Linked DNA regions of Homo sapiens: regions 1 and 2 are each linked to region 3. The links are contacts of gene promoters, found by promoter capture Hi-C in blood cells and fetal thymus (Javierre and others, 2016). All regions are on one chromosome and are shown on one strand. Each heading gives the region's core, a stretch centred on a gene start or on the middle of the fragment in contact. The rest is flanking DNA. Distances are from core to core; before and after follow the strand shown. Region 1 holds the start of TGFBR2 (transforming growth factor beta receptor 2). Region 2 holds the start of STT3B (STT3 oligosaccharyltransferase complex catalytic subunit B). Region 3 holds the start of NEK10 (NIMA related kinase 10).

Region 1 (4,049 bases), core at 265-2,764, 3.2 Mb before region 3:
ATACAAAAATTAGCTGGGCGTGGTGGCACGCGCCTGTAATCCCAGCTACTCGGGAGGCTAAGGCAGGAGAATCGCTTGAACCCAGAGGCAAAGTTGCAGTGAGCCGAGATTGCGCCACTGCACTCCAGCCTGGTGACAGAGCGAGACTCCGTCTCCAAAAAAAAAAAATCTAACTTTTGAAGTCTCAGAGGTTTTACACTTTCCATAACAAATAGTTAAGAACCCCCATTCCTGCATGCATATATATATTAATATTATATATATTTATATATATAATTATATATATATTTATATATATATAATATATATATATATTTTTTTATTTTTATTTTTTCCTTAAAAACCTTCAGAGACAGCGATCAGGTGGGTAGCCTAGTTAGGATTTTAACCCTTCGGTTTCCAACAAACGATAATTGCATAGAACCATCAACTCCCTGAAGACAGGACTATCTTGTTCCAGGCAAAATCTACAGCCTCTAGCACCCAGTAGGCATTCAGTGAGGGATTCTCGGTTTCACCTGAGCATCTCCACTCCCTATCCATCCATGCCAAGGCGTCAGTGGAGCCAGCTAACTTTCTTTTGGAAATCGATTATTTTCTTGAAACTTGTTTCCAAAAACTCCGGGCCAAGAAGCCGGCCTGAGGGAAAGCGTGGCCGTCTCCAGGAGCTAAGGACTGAGGAGCTGGCCTTTTGAACGGGTGGCTCAGAAAGAGCTGGGTGGGCACGCGGCATCGCCATGGGCGGAGTGGCCCAGGTGCGCTGGCTGCTTTGGCAGCTCAGGCTGCCGCTCCGGGCCGCTGCTCCCCGGCCGCCTTCAGATAACCAACTTCTCAAACTTCCCTTTCCGGGGGTGGGGGCTCGCCTCGAACGCGGCCAACACAACGCCTTTCCTGCTCGCACAAAGGGGACCAAACGTGCCCCGCGCCCCTTGCAACTGAACTTTCCTTCTCTTTTTCAAGAAAAACTCACAATCCCTGCAGCTACGGGAGTCGGGCTGCGTGAGTGTCGCGGGGGAAACTTTCCTCGTTTCCGCCCGGGGGCCGGGTTGCCGGGCCCGACTGTCAAGCGCAGCGGAGAGGCGGGGACCCCAGGAAGACCCCCGGCGCCCCGCCGAGCCCGGGCTGGGGACCACTCACCCGACTTCTGAACGTGCGGTGGGATCGTGCTGGCGATACGCGTCCACAGGACGATGTGCAGCGGCCACAGGCCCCTGAGCAGCCCCCGACCCATGGCAGACCCCGCTGCTCGTCATAGACCGAGCCCCCAGCGCAGCGGACGGCGCCTTCCCGGACCCCTGGCTGCGCCTCCGCGCCGCGCCCTCTCCGGACCCCGCGCCGGGCCGGCAGCGCAGATGTGCGGGCCAGATGTGGCGCCCGCTCGCCAGCCAGGAGGGGGCCTGGAGGCCGGCGAGGCGCGGGGAGGCCCCCGGCGGCCGAGGGAAGCTGCACAGGAGTCCGGCTCCTGTCCCGAGCGGGTGCACGCGCGGGGGTGTCGTCGCTCCGTGCGCGCGAGTGACTCACTCAACTTCAACTCAGCGCTGCGGGGGAAACAGGAAACTCCTCGCCAACAGCTGGGCAGGACCTCTCTCCGCCCGAGAGCCTTCTCCCTCTCCTCGACGTCCAGCCCCTAGCTCTCTCGTAGCTGCCAATCATGTTTCCTAGACCAGCCCCTCCGAGAGCTTTGGCCGACTTTCAGCTGCCCCTCACCGCCCTCCCACACCACTCAGGAGTTCCTCGCTCCAAGTATTTACTCAAGAATGACTAAGTGCACACAGTTCACAAAGTAACAACAGAAAACGTCCACGTTTTCCCTAGTAGATCAGAACATCTGCCGCCTCCCCTCAGCTTTCTTCAGATTGCTCCTAGGTGCTTTAGAGATGCGTTTTCAAATTGCAAGTTGAGATCCAGGAGTGAATACTCCAATCTATTGAGTCGCGAGCACATTTCTTTCCCAAATAAAATAGTAACGGTAAATTCTACTTCATTAAATTTGTGCTTCAGTTGTGTCTATATGCATGTATGTATGTGCATACACTGTCAAGTTGTAAAATGTTTTTCTTTAGGTCGAAGTCTAGAGGTTTTTCTCAAGTTTTAATGTACATATTGATCACCTGGAAATCTTATTTAAAAATGCAGATTCTAATTCAGTAGGTCTAGGAGGCAGGCAGAGATTCTGCATTTCTAATGAGCACCTGGATAGAGCGTCCCATTTTGCACCGCCTCTTCCCGGGACTGAGTCAGTGAGTAATTGTAAATGATCACCTATCACGAAGTGATAGTGGTGGGAAATGTAATTTTCAGAATGTATAGAGTATAGCAGAAACTGTAAAATTAAAAGTGGGTTGGGAGTCACCTGAATGCTTGTGCTTTTATTCCCTTAATGCAGGTGAAGAAAGAGAATACTTACCCTCTCATGTGCAAACGGGGTAACATGGGAGCAGAACAGTATAAACTTTCAAATTTCCTTTCTTGCTAGGGCAACCAGATTTGCCCAAGACATTCCTGGTGTACATGTTTTGTAGTTTAAATATTAATAGAACCCCCTTTCTCTTTCAGATATGTCCTGATTGGATAATAAACTATGTGATCAACCTACTTCCCACTCTCAAAGATATGATTCTGTACAGCCCTCTGGTCAGTAGATCTTCTAGCAATTCATTTAATGAATTCCTTTACCTGAGAGGAAGATTGCAGAGGCAAGGGTTTGTGCCAGGGTCTCCAGGGAATAAAGGTAAATAGCCCTCCCCCAAACCCAACTCCCAAATCTTTCCTGTCATTCTAAGTGTTCATTTGCTTCATCCTGGAATTTTAACTCATGCTCCACCTAGCACCCAAGCTGCCTCTGGATGTTTTGCCACTTCCCAGTACTCATGTTGAAGATGCAGAAAGTGCAGTGAAATCAGGAGGGCTAGGCATCTTCTTTCCCACCAATTAATTGCCTTGCCAAAGCTGGAGTGACTTTGTCAATGGAGGAAGATTGAGTTCCAAATCTTCTCCCTATTCCCTCTTCTGCCACCAGCCCATGCCACTGCCATGGCTTGTGTAGGAGTCTCCCACGAGTCACCCTCAGCCACGGCCGTTCTGGGCTCTTTCACTCAGTTTCTCAAACGAGAGCTGAATTCAGCTTTTCAAAATACAAAACTAGTTATACCAACCCTCTGATTAAAATCATTTAATGGCTTCCCACTGCTCTTGAGATAAAGAGAAGATAAAAACCAGATCCTTGAACGTGTCTTCAAGCCTCCAACTCTCCCGTAAACTTTCATTTGGCTTCTCCTTGCTTACTGAAAGCCTTCTCCAAATTTCGTGAATATGCCTCTGTAATCCTCCTACCCTTTATGCTTAGAGCCTTCCCCAGTGTGGACTTCCTTCCTCTGACCTTTTTTTCTTCACCCAGCCAACTCCTGGTCTTCGTGGATTGAATCATAACTTCTTTGATGGGCAAGCTTTCCCTCACCTCCATGAGTAGATCTTGTATTACACGTTCTCTTGGCACCATATGCTTTTCTTTTAACAGCTGTAACTTTATAATTATTTGTGTCATTCTTTAATTTATATTTCTATCCTCCACTCAACTCCAAATTTCTTGAGGGCAGGTATTATGTATCTTTCCCTCCACTTACTATTGTGTCCCTAAGCATCAAACACATAATCGATGTTTAATAAATATTTGTTGGATGAATGAATGAATCAGGCAATAAAGATTTAGAAGAAAATTGTATTTGATTGTTCTAGTTGCTTCATAACTCTGGAGAAAACATTGTTACCGAATATTTGAGATATAAACAGACTACATTTTAGCCGAGAATGATGTCACCACTACTTCCTTTTCTTAAGAATGGAGAAGTATGTGGGTTTCTTTCTTCTTCTTTTTTTTTTCCTACATTTGCCCAAGTTCCTCCAGATAGCAAACATGTACTTTCTTTCTCCTGAAAACACAATGTGGCAAATAAATGTCCAATAGATTCCAAAAGCTTTGTTTTCCTTAATTATCACAAAGATGTTTTACATTGTTGGAGGCTAGATATTTAAATCTATGGTGGAATGTT
Region 2 (4,151 bases), core at 213-2,712, 4.2 Mb before region 3:
GTTGGGCAAGTTGCGAAAAAAAAGTTAAAGCAATCTTTCCATCTAGATAATTCACAGACCAATGTAGTGTCTAAGTTAGCTAGTGTTGTTAAGAGTGGGGTAATTTCCTAAAACATTCAGGTCAGTCCCTTACACCATGTGCAACTTCGGTATTACAATCTAGGACTCCCATCACCGTGGTACTGTTTGCTCTTATCCACAAACCTTCCTGCAGACCAATAAAGGAACTAATGCAATGCTTTCAGATACTGTGCATAACACACTAAGGGTGACAGTGGCTAACAGGGTAAGGATCTTGTTCTAAAAAGCAACCCAAGACGATAGTGAAACAGTAAGGTGCTGAGTGCACTTAAGAGCTCTGAAAAAAAGCCACTCTTTAAAATACCTAATGATAAATAAATAAGAGTAGCTAGCTTTCAGATCACTTTCAGGGGTATTATTTCCTTCCCTCCAACACGCCATTCACTCTCCTTTTCCCTTCTCGTATCATGAGAGCATAAAAAGAAACAGTAAAAGCGTAAAACTGCAAGGGTGAGCAGCCGGGGTTCCGGCACATCTGGACCCACCTCCAGCGGCAACAGGGCAGCCCCCCTGGCCGATTCCGTCTGAACTAGCAAAAACGCGCCCGCAAATATGAAAGAACGCGAAAGCAGCGGGCGAGGAGGGCGGGGAATCGACCGACAGTCCGCGGAGGAGCTACCTGCCGCCTCCTGGCGTGGCGGGTCCGGACTCAGCGACCAAAGCGGGCTGCGAGGGACTGCACCCACACTCCCGGCGGCTGCACCCACACTCCCGGCGGCTGCATCCACACTCCTGGCAGTCTTCACACTAGCCCGGCCGAGAATCAAGGTTTCGCTCCTGGACCCCGACGCCCCGCCTCAGGCTGCACGGGGCAAACTTCGCCCACGGGCAGGGGGCGCGCCCGGAGCTCCGGGATCCGCGCCGGCCTCAGCCAGGACGCGAGCGGGGCTCCGCGGCGGCGCGGGGCCAAGTCGAGGAGAGCTGCGGCGGGCGGAGGAGCGGGTCCCGGTTCCCCGCGGGCCACGGGCGGGGGAGGGGCGGCGAGGCACTTACCACGGGTCGAACTCGTGGATGATGCTTTCGAAGCGGATGACGGCGAAGAGGCGCGAGCTGAAGCCGGCAAGCCAGGCCAGGAAGAGGATGGTGAAGGAGAGAAGCGACTGCCACCCAGCCGGCTGCGACAGCCCCCCGGACAGCCCCGCCGGGGCCGGCTTCGGCGGCGCCGCGCCGCCCGCCGCCTTGTGCGCGCACTGGGCCCCGGGCCCGTGGTGGCCGTGCCGGCTGTTTCCCAGGGCCATGAGGCCACTCCACGGGGACGAGTTGAGGGACGACTTGTGCTTGCTCTCCGGGGCCGAGGGCTCCGCCATGTTGTGCCCCGGCGGCGGGTCTAGCTCTCCTCCTCCGCCGCCGCCGCCTGGTGCGAGGGGTGCTGGGCGGGGACCCGGAGGAGGAGGAGGAGGAGGAAGAAAAAGGAGGAGGGAAGAGCTCTGCGCGCTCCCGCCCTCAGCGCCGCGAGGCCGGCGGACTGGGGGTGGAGGAAGCGGCGGCGGGGAGTCTCCGCCTCAGCAGCGGCCGCAATCGCCGCTCTCTCAACCCAGATGGCCCCGGCGCCCCACTAGCCATCCGTATCCCCAGTGCAGCTGCGGCGGCGGCGGCGAAAGCCGACGGGACGAGGGCGCCAGGAAAGAAGCAGCAGACGGAGGCGGCACCACGGCTCTGAGAAGCAATGACATTCCCTCTCTAGCCCGCCGCCCGCCCAGCCGAAAGGAGCAGGGGGAGGAGCCCCCTGGAGTCCGGGCGGAGCTCAAGCAACCTCTGACTCCGCCTCCGGCCCGACAGGAACTGGCCCCTCCGCCTGTCACAAAGCGACAGGTCCGTTAGGGGGCGGGCCCAGAACCGCTGCGCCCACCAATAGGGGCGCGAGCTGGGGCGGAGCTTGACCCAACCGTCTCCCCCTCCCCCCCACCATCCCGGCCTCGCGCCGATTCGCCCGGAGTGGCCGAGCTGCGCGGCTACGGCTTCATTGTCAGTTGAAAGACGCGGTTTCGCGCGCCTGTGCGGTCGGCGAGAAAGGGTACTAGGCGGCTCCGCTAGGTTCATGGAGCTGAGCTGGGCCGAGGGGCGGGAACTGCGGAGCGGCCTCGGTCAAACTCGTCTTAAAGGACGCGGAAAGCGCCGCACCGACCAGCAGGACGCTCGCGGGCTCTCCGCGGTCGTGACTTTTAACCCGCTTTGCGCGGAGCCCTCACCACGTGACGGCCGCGCAGGCGCATTATCCTAGCCCTCGGCGCGTGGGTCGGGCCGAGGGGTTCAGCAGCCCGTGGCGCTCCTCGGCTGGCGCTGCGAGTGAGCCCGCGGCGGCAGTGACACAGCCTACCTTGCTCATTGCCCTTCACGTCCCGCCTCCGGCTTCTGCGGCCGCGGGAATCCGAGAATGTGAGCAAAGACAAGTTTTCCGACACCGAAAACTCGTTGGAACCGGCAAGCGCGCCCCTAGCTCCGGCAGGCAAAATGCGACCTTCTCTCGCCCTTTTTCGTTTGTACTCCGAATTGCGAAAGTACTGTATGTTCACTGGAAATATGGGAAAATGCAGAAATACATTAACGGCTGCATACATTCCGTCGAGTGAGTGAAACTAACTTACCCTGGACGTTAAGCTGTTTCCAGTTCTCACTTTACTAAATAATAATAGAACGAAGGTTCTTGTGCACGTCTACCTTGTATTTTTATAATTCCTTTCCTTTCCCCACTTCCCTCCTTGTCCGCTAAAATAAAGTGCTACCAGATAAACTCAGGGCAAAATGAGCTTAAACTAAGTGAGGTAGTGGGGAGACTCGAATTGCTCTTATATAAACCCCATAGAAAGTACGGAGCTTTCGGCGTAATCGGTGCTCAGTAAATACTTGTTCATGTCAATTCACAGCTAATTGTACATTTTATTAGGTAAGTAACATCTGGATATTAAAGGGCATATTAATGTAAAACTATAAAGGCCCTGAATTATTTTCTTAGGTGATTTAAATTTTTCTCTTTAACTACAAATTGTGTTTCAATATTAATAGAAGTCTTAAAATATTAGATAAATGAACCCTAGTTATTTTGAGGTAGCTCCTTGAAAGTAAGGCAACTCCAGCTACCCTTTTAACCTGCTAAGTGGTTACGTTTTGTCTTGTTTCCTTAAAAAAACCATAAATAGTCTTATTAAGGAAATAATGAAAAGGTTTCCAGAAATAGACTTTCTCACCAACAGTTTAATAGCCGACATTTATTGAACGTACACATTTTAATGAGAATTAGGATAAAATATTAACTGCCTCTGTTATACAGAGAAAGATGACATGCTTTTCCTCATAGCCCAAACGGTACATGCTGAAATGACAGCAGAGGATTTTTGTCTGTGTTCCCTGAACCAAAGTTTTATCAGTCTAAAATAAAATTTGTGTTTTTATTTTAATTTGTTTGGATATTTCTATTTTATTGTCTTTGTGTATCTATTCCCTAGTAAGTTCTACGTTATCTTCTTTTGCTTCCTGTTTTGGCTGTTTAATGGCCATAGGCCTGATCTGAAAAGTGACAAAGTGAAATAGTCCCAAATTGTTGCTTACTAGTCATGTAGCATTGGACAAGTCACCTGCATGGGTTGCCCTTTCTGCTCTTAAAGTCAGTTGTTAATATTAAAAAAGCTTATCTGAAAGCATTTTAGGAAATTGTTAAGGAACGTGCAAATACAGGGTAGTGGTAAAGGTGAAAAGCCCTACGAAAACCCCTTGATTTTTGACCTTCATTTATTCACTCATTCATTCAGCAAGTATATATTGAACTCCTTTATGCCGACCACTGTGAGTGAACTGGGATGCATGGGGATTCAGCTAGGAACAGGAAAGACAGGGCTCCTACTCTCAGAGAGTTCACCAGCCAGCCCTAGGAAGGGAGGTATTAACCAAATCATCAGATGGTTCAGGACCAAAATGCAGGGTGACAAACACTGTGGAGGACAGGCACATGGGGAATTTGATCTACACCAGAAGGATGAGAAACATTACCCTGAGGAAGCAGCACTGGAAGTGATGATGAACGGACGAGGAGAAGGAGAATGGAACGCGTTACATAGAGAAGCACGTGCAAAGGC
Region 3 (4,435 bases), core at 12-2,511:
AGCATCGGTCTTCCTGCCCCGTCACCTTGTTTTGTTTTATTGGTAACATTAATCCTGATTGTTTTAGATCTCTGAAGTTTAATTAGTTCTGCTATACTCACCAGAGTTTGGCTTTCATCTCGCCTTTCTGCATTTCCAAAATAGGACCGTCTTCATTTTAAAAAATGCTTTCAATTACCCAAGCTTAAGTATTGTTAATCCAATGGGCCTACTTACTATCCACACCAGAAAAACGTTAGGGTTCACTGTATTCATTTAAAATCCAGTTTGGGAAGATGTAACCACCAGACACACACACGAGCGTTTAGTGATACCAAGATGAGGTTGAACAGGGCCCAGTACTCGAAGAAATCGTCGAAGGAGCATCATCGTGGTTAAGACCAGACTCGAAGTAGGTTTTACCCTGACTCCATCACTAGCTCTGCCATACTGGACTACTTAGGAAACTTCTTGTGCCTCCATTTTATAACTAAGTGAAATAAGGAAAGAATTTGAAATCGTGCCCGGCACAAAATTAAGCACTTAATAGATTGGCATTTTTCATTTATTTAAAGTTACAGAATGTCAGGTATATTTTTAAAGCGTTATCTAATGCAGTTCAGAAATTTTAAAGAAGCTCCAGACTTTCACAAAAGGTGAAGTGACTTGCCCAAAGCCACAAAACGAACTGGCGATAGTTATACTATACAGGTTTCTTGAATCCCAGGTCACTCTTTTTGTGAAAAATACGGTGCTGTGGCACCTTATTCTCATTGCCTGTGGCTTGAGTAACTGAAGACGTTTTCATGCCATATGAAAGGTATTTAGCATGCTGCATTGATTCCTTATCAGATTAAATCTTTGCTTTTAAAGAGAATTGATTTTTAGCCCATAGCAATTCTTGAAAGTAAACACTCCAAGATGAAGCTGCCCTTTCCCATCAAAGGTTAGACACCCTAAATCCAGAAAAATCTTCAACGTGTAGGAGACCTGTTCACAGGTAGCTCTAGGTTCCGGTGAAGTGGCTGCAGCACAGCCTTCAGCATCACTTGCTGCCTCTTCTGCTTGCAAGCTTGGTGGTGGATCTAGCGCGTCTCTGGTTGCTACGGCGATTCCCCGGCAGGCGTCATCCGTCGCTATGGCGTTCTGCACTGCGCAGCATGGCTGCTCCCGATTGGCTGAGGCGCCCCAGGTGGCGGAGGAAGAATTGTCGGCATTGGCCTGGCCAGCGCTGGTTGGTGGCCTGGAGGAGGATTTGATTGGAAAACCAACGGTGCAGCTGGCCGCGGTGTCCCTGAGGTTGAGGGGACCGGGAATAGGCTGGGGGGAGGACGGGACGGGCTGAGACTGGACGGGACCCCCGGTCTGCAGCAGCAGGTGACAGCAGCAGGGACAATGATAAGGAGATTGGCCTGAAGGAGGGACCGTCCCTCCCGCGCGGTGAGTAGGCGGGAGCCGGTGCTCGGCTGTGCCGGCGAGCAGCTTGAGTCAGGGTCTCCGGGGAGACGTCCTCAGGTCCCTGTGGAGCGGCCCCGAAGCCTCGGGAGCCAGCTTCACTAGACAAGAGGCAGAGGTAGAGAATGCGGCTGTGGTGGGTAAGTGAGTCACTGCGTGAGGCAGTCTTTTCAAAGCAGGTGGGTTTGTGTTGGACGGATGGATGGTGGGAAAGCGCCATCAACGATGCTTCTTGGCGCTTCCATTTTGATAACGGAATTATTCTGGTTAAATGGAGCCTGAATGTGTCTCTTCCAATCTGCTCCGACGCCTCTGGAGGTTCATTCTTCATCTCTATGAGCGTCGCTTTTCTGCCTTCTCCTTACAGGATGCTGCTTTGACTTTGCCCCTCTGCTTTTCTGCCCTACTTCGGTGAGCCCTTCCACTTCCTCGCCTCAGGCACCATCTATCTGACGATGATTAGAAAGTCTCCAACTGGAACCTAGCCTGCTCTACTAACTGTCAGACCCCAAAATCCAGCTGCCAAGTTAACGCCACACATGTGCAACCCTGAACGCCATCTTCCCCATGTCTGCTGCTGCTCTTGGATTCCCTATTTTGGGCATCACTATCCATTCAGCTTTCAAAAACTACACTCTAGACGACATCCATGACACTTACTGCTGCTTCCTCTGCATCTCTATCAATTATCAAGACTATCCCTTCTTAATAGGTGTTGAATCAATTCCCACATTACCATCTCTATTTTTACTGTCTCAATTTCCACCATCGGTTGGTTAAATTCAACACCCATCTGGCTTCTCCGATTCTAGTCTGGCCCTATCTATCCAATCCACTTTTTTCCCCACCATTGTTGAACTGATATATATATATGTGTATATATATATATATGGAGTCCTTCTAAAAAAGACTCCTTTTTTAGAAGGAGTCTTGCTGTGCTGCCAGGCTGGAGTGCAGTGGAGCGATCTCAGCTCACTGCAGCCTCCGCCTTCCGGGTTCAACCAATTCTCATGCCTCAGCCTCCAGAGAGCTGGGATTACAGGCGCGAGCCACTACGCCTGGCTAATTTTTGTATTTTTAGTAGAGAAGGGGTTTCACCATGTTGGTCAGGCTGGTCTCGAACTCCTGATCTCAGGTGATCCACCCGCCTCAGCCTCCCAAAGTGCTGGAATTACAGGCGTGAGCCACCGTGCCCGGCTAAACTGATCTTTTTAAAACGCACATAAGGGCATTTCCCTTCCCTACTTAAAGTCCTGCAATGATTCCCCATTACCCTAATCCAATCTTTAGTTAGGCCTTCTATCAGCAGTTCCATCTTGATTGTTCCCAGAATATGTCACATTCTCTCCTGTGTGTAATTATCTCACCTGTTGCTCACACTGCCTGGAATGGACTTTCCTTTTTGCACCCCCACACTCCTGCTCTCACTCCCCAATCATTTTCTGTATGTTGCTTGATTACTGTTTCTTTCTCTGGACTGCCTCTGTGACGGCAGAGACCATCTTTGTCTCAGTCACTATTGTTATATATATCCAGCATTTAGCCCAGTGCAAGACATCGTAACAGGTGTTCAACAAATACTTGTTAACTGACTGAATCTCTAAAATGAGAAGTTACTGTTTGCCATGGTATCTTTATTTCTTCCAGAAAAGTCAGAAATGGCCAATGAAGCTTTTGCTTATAAAAGGTAAATATTGAAAAAATGTTATAAAAGGTACAGGTTTTACTTTAATTTCAAGACCCTTAGTAATTGGAAACTACTTCAATTCACAGTTTATAGTTCAAGCCATAATCATTATCACGGTAGCTGTTATTATATGACATAAGCTTAAAATGGTAAAGAGAGAGACAGTACAGCATGGTGTGCAAGAGCTAAGCTTTGGAGTCATACATACATGGGTTTGAATCCTAGCTCTAGCATTTTAATTGTGTAACACATAACAAATTACTTAGCCTCTAGTCAGATTCTTTATCTGCACAATGGGGGTATAATAGCACCTAGCTCATAGGATTCTTTTAAAGATTATATGTACATAATTCATACCAAAGGTATAGTGCTTTATATATAGTAAGCTTTCACGTTTAAAAATGAACACACTGGGCTGGGCATGGTGGCTCATGCCGTGAATCCCAGCACTTTGGGACGATGAGGTGGGTGGATCACCTGAGGTCAGGAGTTCAAGATCAGCCTGGCCCACATGGTGAAACCCCATCTCTACAAAAAATACAAAATTAGCTGGGCATGGTGGCGCACACCTGTAATCCCCGCTACTTGGGAGGCTGAAGCAGGAGAATCCCTTGAACCGGGAGGCGGAGGTTGCAGTGAGCCAAGATCACGCCACTGCTCTACAGCCTGGGCAACAAGAGTGAAACTCCGTCTCAAAAAAAAAAAAAAAAAAAAATGAACACACTGAAGTCTAGAGCTGTGAAATTGTCATGGTGAGTTTACAAAAGGTAAAAATCAATCTTTTGATTCAGTCAAGTGCAATTTCTAGGACACCATCCTGTTGTTATAGTACTTGATCACAAACTTTTGTGTTTGGCGACAGCTCTGATACAGCTCTGAGTCTCAATCATTCAGTGAGTATTTATTGACCATCTAATGGGTTTGGGGCTCCATGCCCAGTGAGGGTGAGCCAAAAGACAGTGCAACAAATAAAGTCTTCAGGAGGTGGAAGAAGGGCCTGGAATGTTACTCTGCCTGTCACAGCCAGTCAAGCTTTGAGGCTGAAGTCAAAGTGAACTGGGTTGAGCACTTGGATAGGCAGAGAGGAGCTGGAAGTTCATCCAGACAGTCAACAAATATTTATTGAACACCTGGGCCTTCAGCAGTGAACAAAACAAAGGCACTATTCTCTTAGGACAGTTCTCAGGGCGCAGTAGAGCAGAGTTCATAGAACACAGATTCTGGAGCCAGACTGCTTGGGTTGTAATCCTAGCTCCCCAAATCCTAGATATGGGATTGGCAAGTTAACTTAATCTTTCTGCACCTCAGTTTCCT

What was found. The method cuts DNA at HindIII sites, captures the fragments that hold promoters and counts their contacts. A CHiCAGO score of 5 or more calls a contact.
Region 1: the fragment with the promoter of TGFBR2 here is called in contact with the fragment with the promoter of NEK10 in region 3 in 1 of 17 cell types (M0 macrophages); the score reaches 6.6 in M0 macrophages.
Region 2: a contact is called between the fragment with the promoter of STT3B here and the fragment with the promoter of NEK10 in region 3, in 1 of 17 cell types (monocytes). The highest score is 5.3, in monocytes.

Annotation. Positions count from the first base shown.
Region 1 is chr3:30,604,066-30,608,114 of GRCh38, reverse strand. It overlaps TGFBR2 (transforming growth factor beta receptor 2), which reads right to left and starts at 1,514. Exons shown (of 7, transcript NM_003242.6): 1 at 1,138-1,514. The coding sequence starts at 1,231. LOC105377015 (translation initiation factor IF-2-like) reads left to right here and starts at 1,191. Exons shown (of 2, transcript XM_047449400.1): 1 at 1,191-1,969; 2 at 2,557-3,716. The coding sequence starts at 1,191. The coding sequence ends at 1,631. RefSeq lists a silencer at 1,341-1,440. The HindIII fragment of the contact is 4,009 bases long and covers 1-3,448 here.
Region 2 is chr3:31,530,236-31,534,386 of GRCh38, reverse strand. STT3B (STT3 oligosaccharyltransferase complex catalytic subunit B) reads right to left here and starts at 1,462. Exons shown (of 16, transcript NM_178862.3): 1 at 1,075-1,462. The coding sequence starts at 1,388. RefSeq lists enhancers at 730-789, 1,640-1,779 and silencers at 950-1,099, 1,180-1,309, 1,340-1,569, 1,880-2,139. The HindIII fragment of the contact is 5,534 bases long and covers 1-3,707 here.
Region 3 is chr3:27,366,209-27,370,643 of GRCh38, reverse strand. NEK10 (NIMA related kinase 10) reads left to right here and starts at 1,261. Exons shown (of 36, transcript NM_001394966.1): 1 at 1,261-1,419. RefSeq lists an enhancer at 1,503-2,003. The HindIII fragment of the contact is 2,054 bases long and covers 1,054-3,107 here.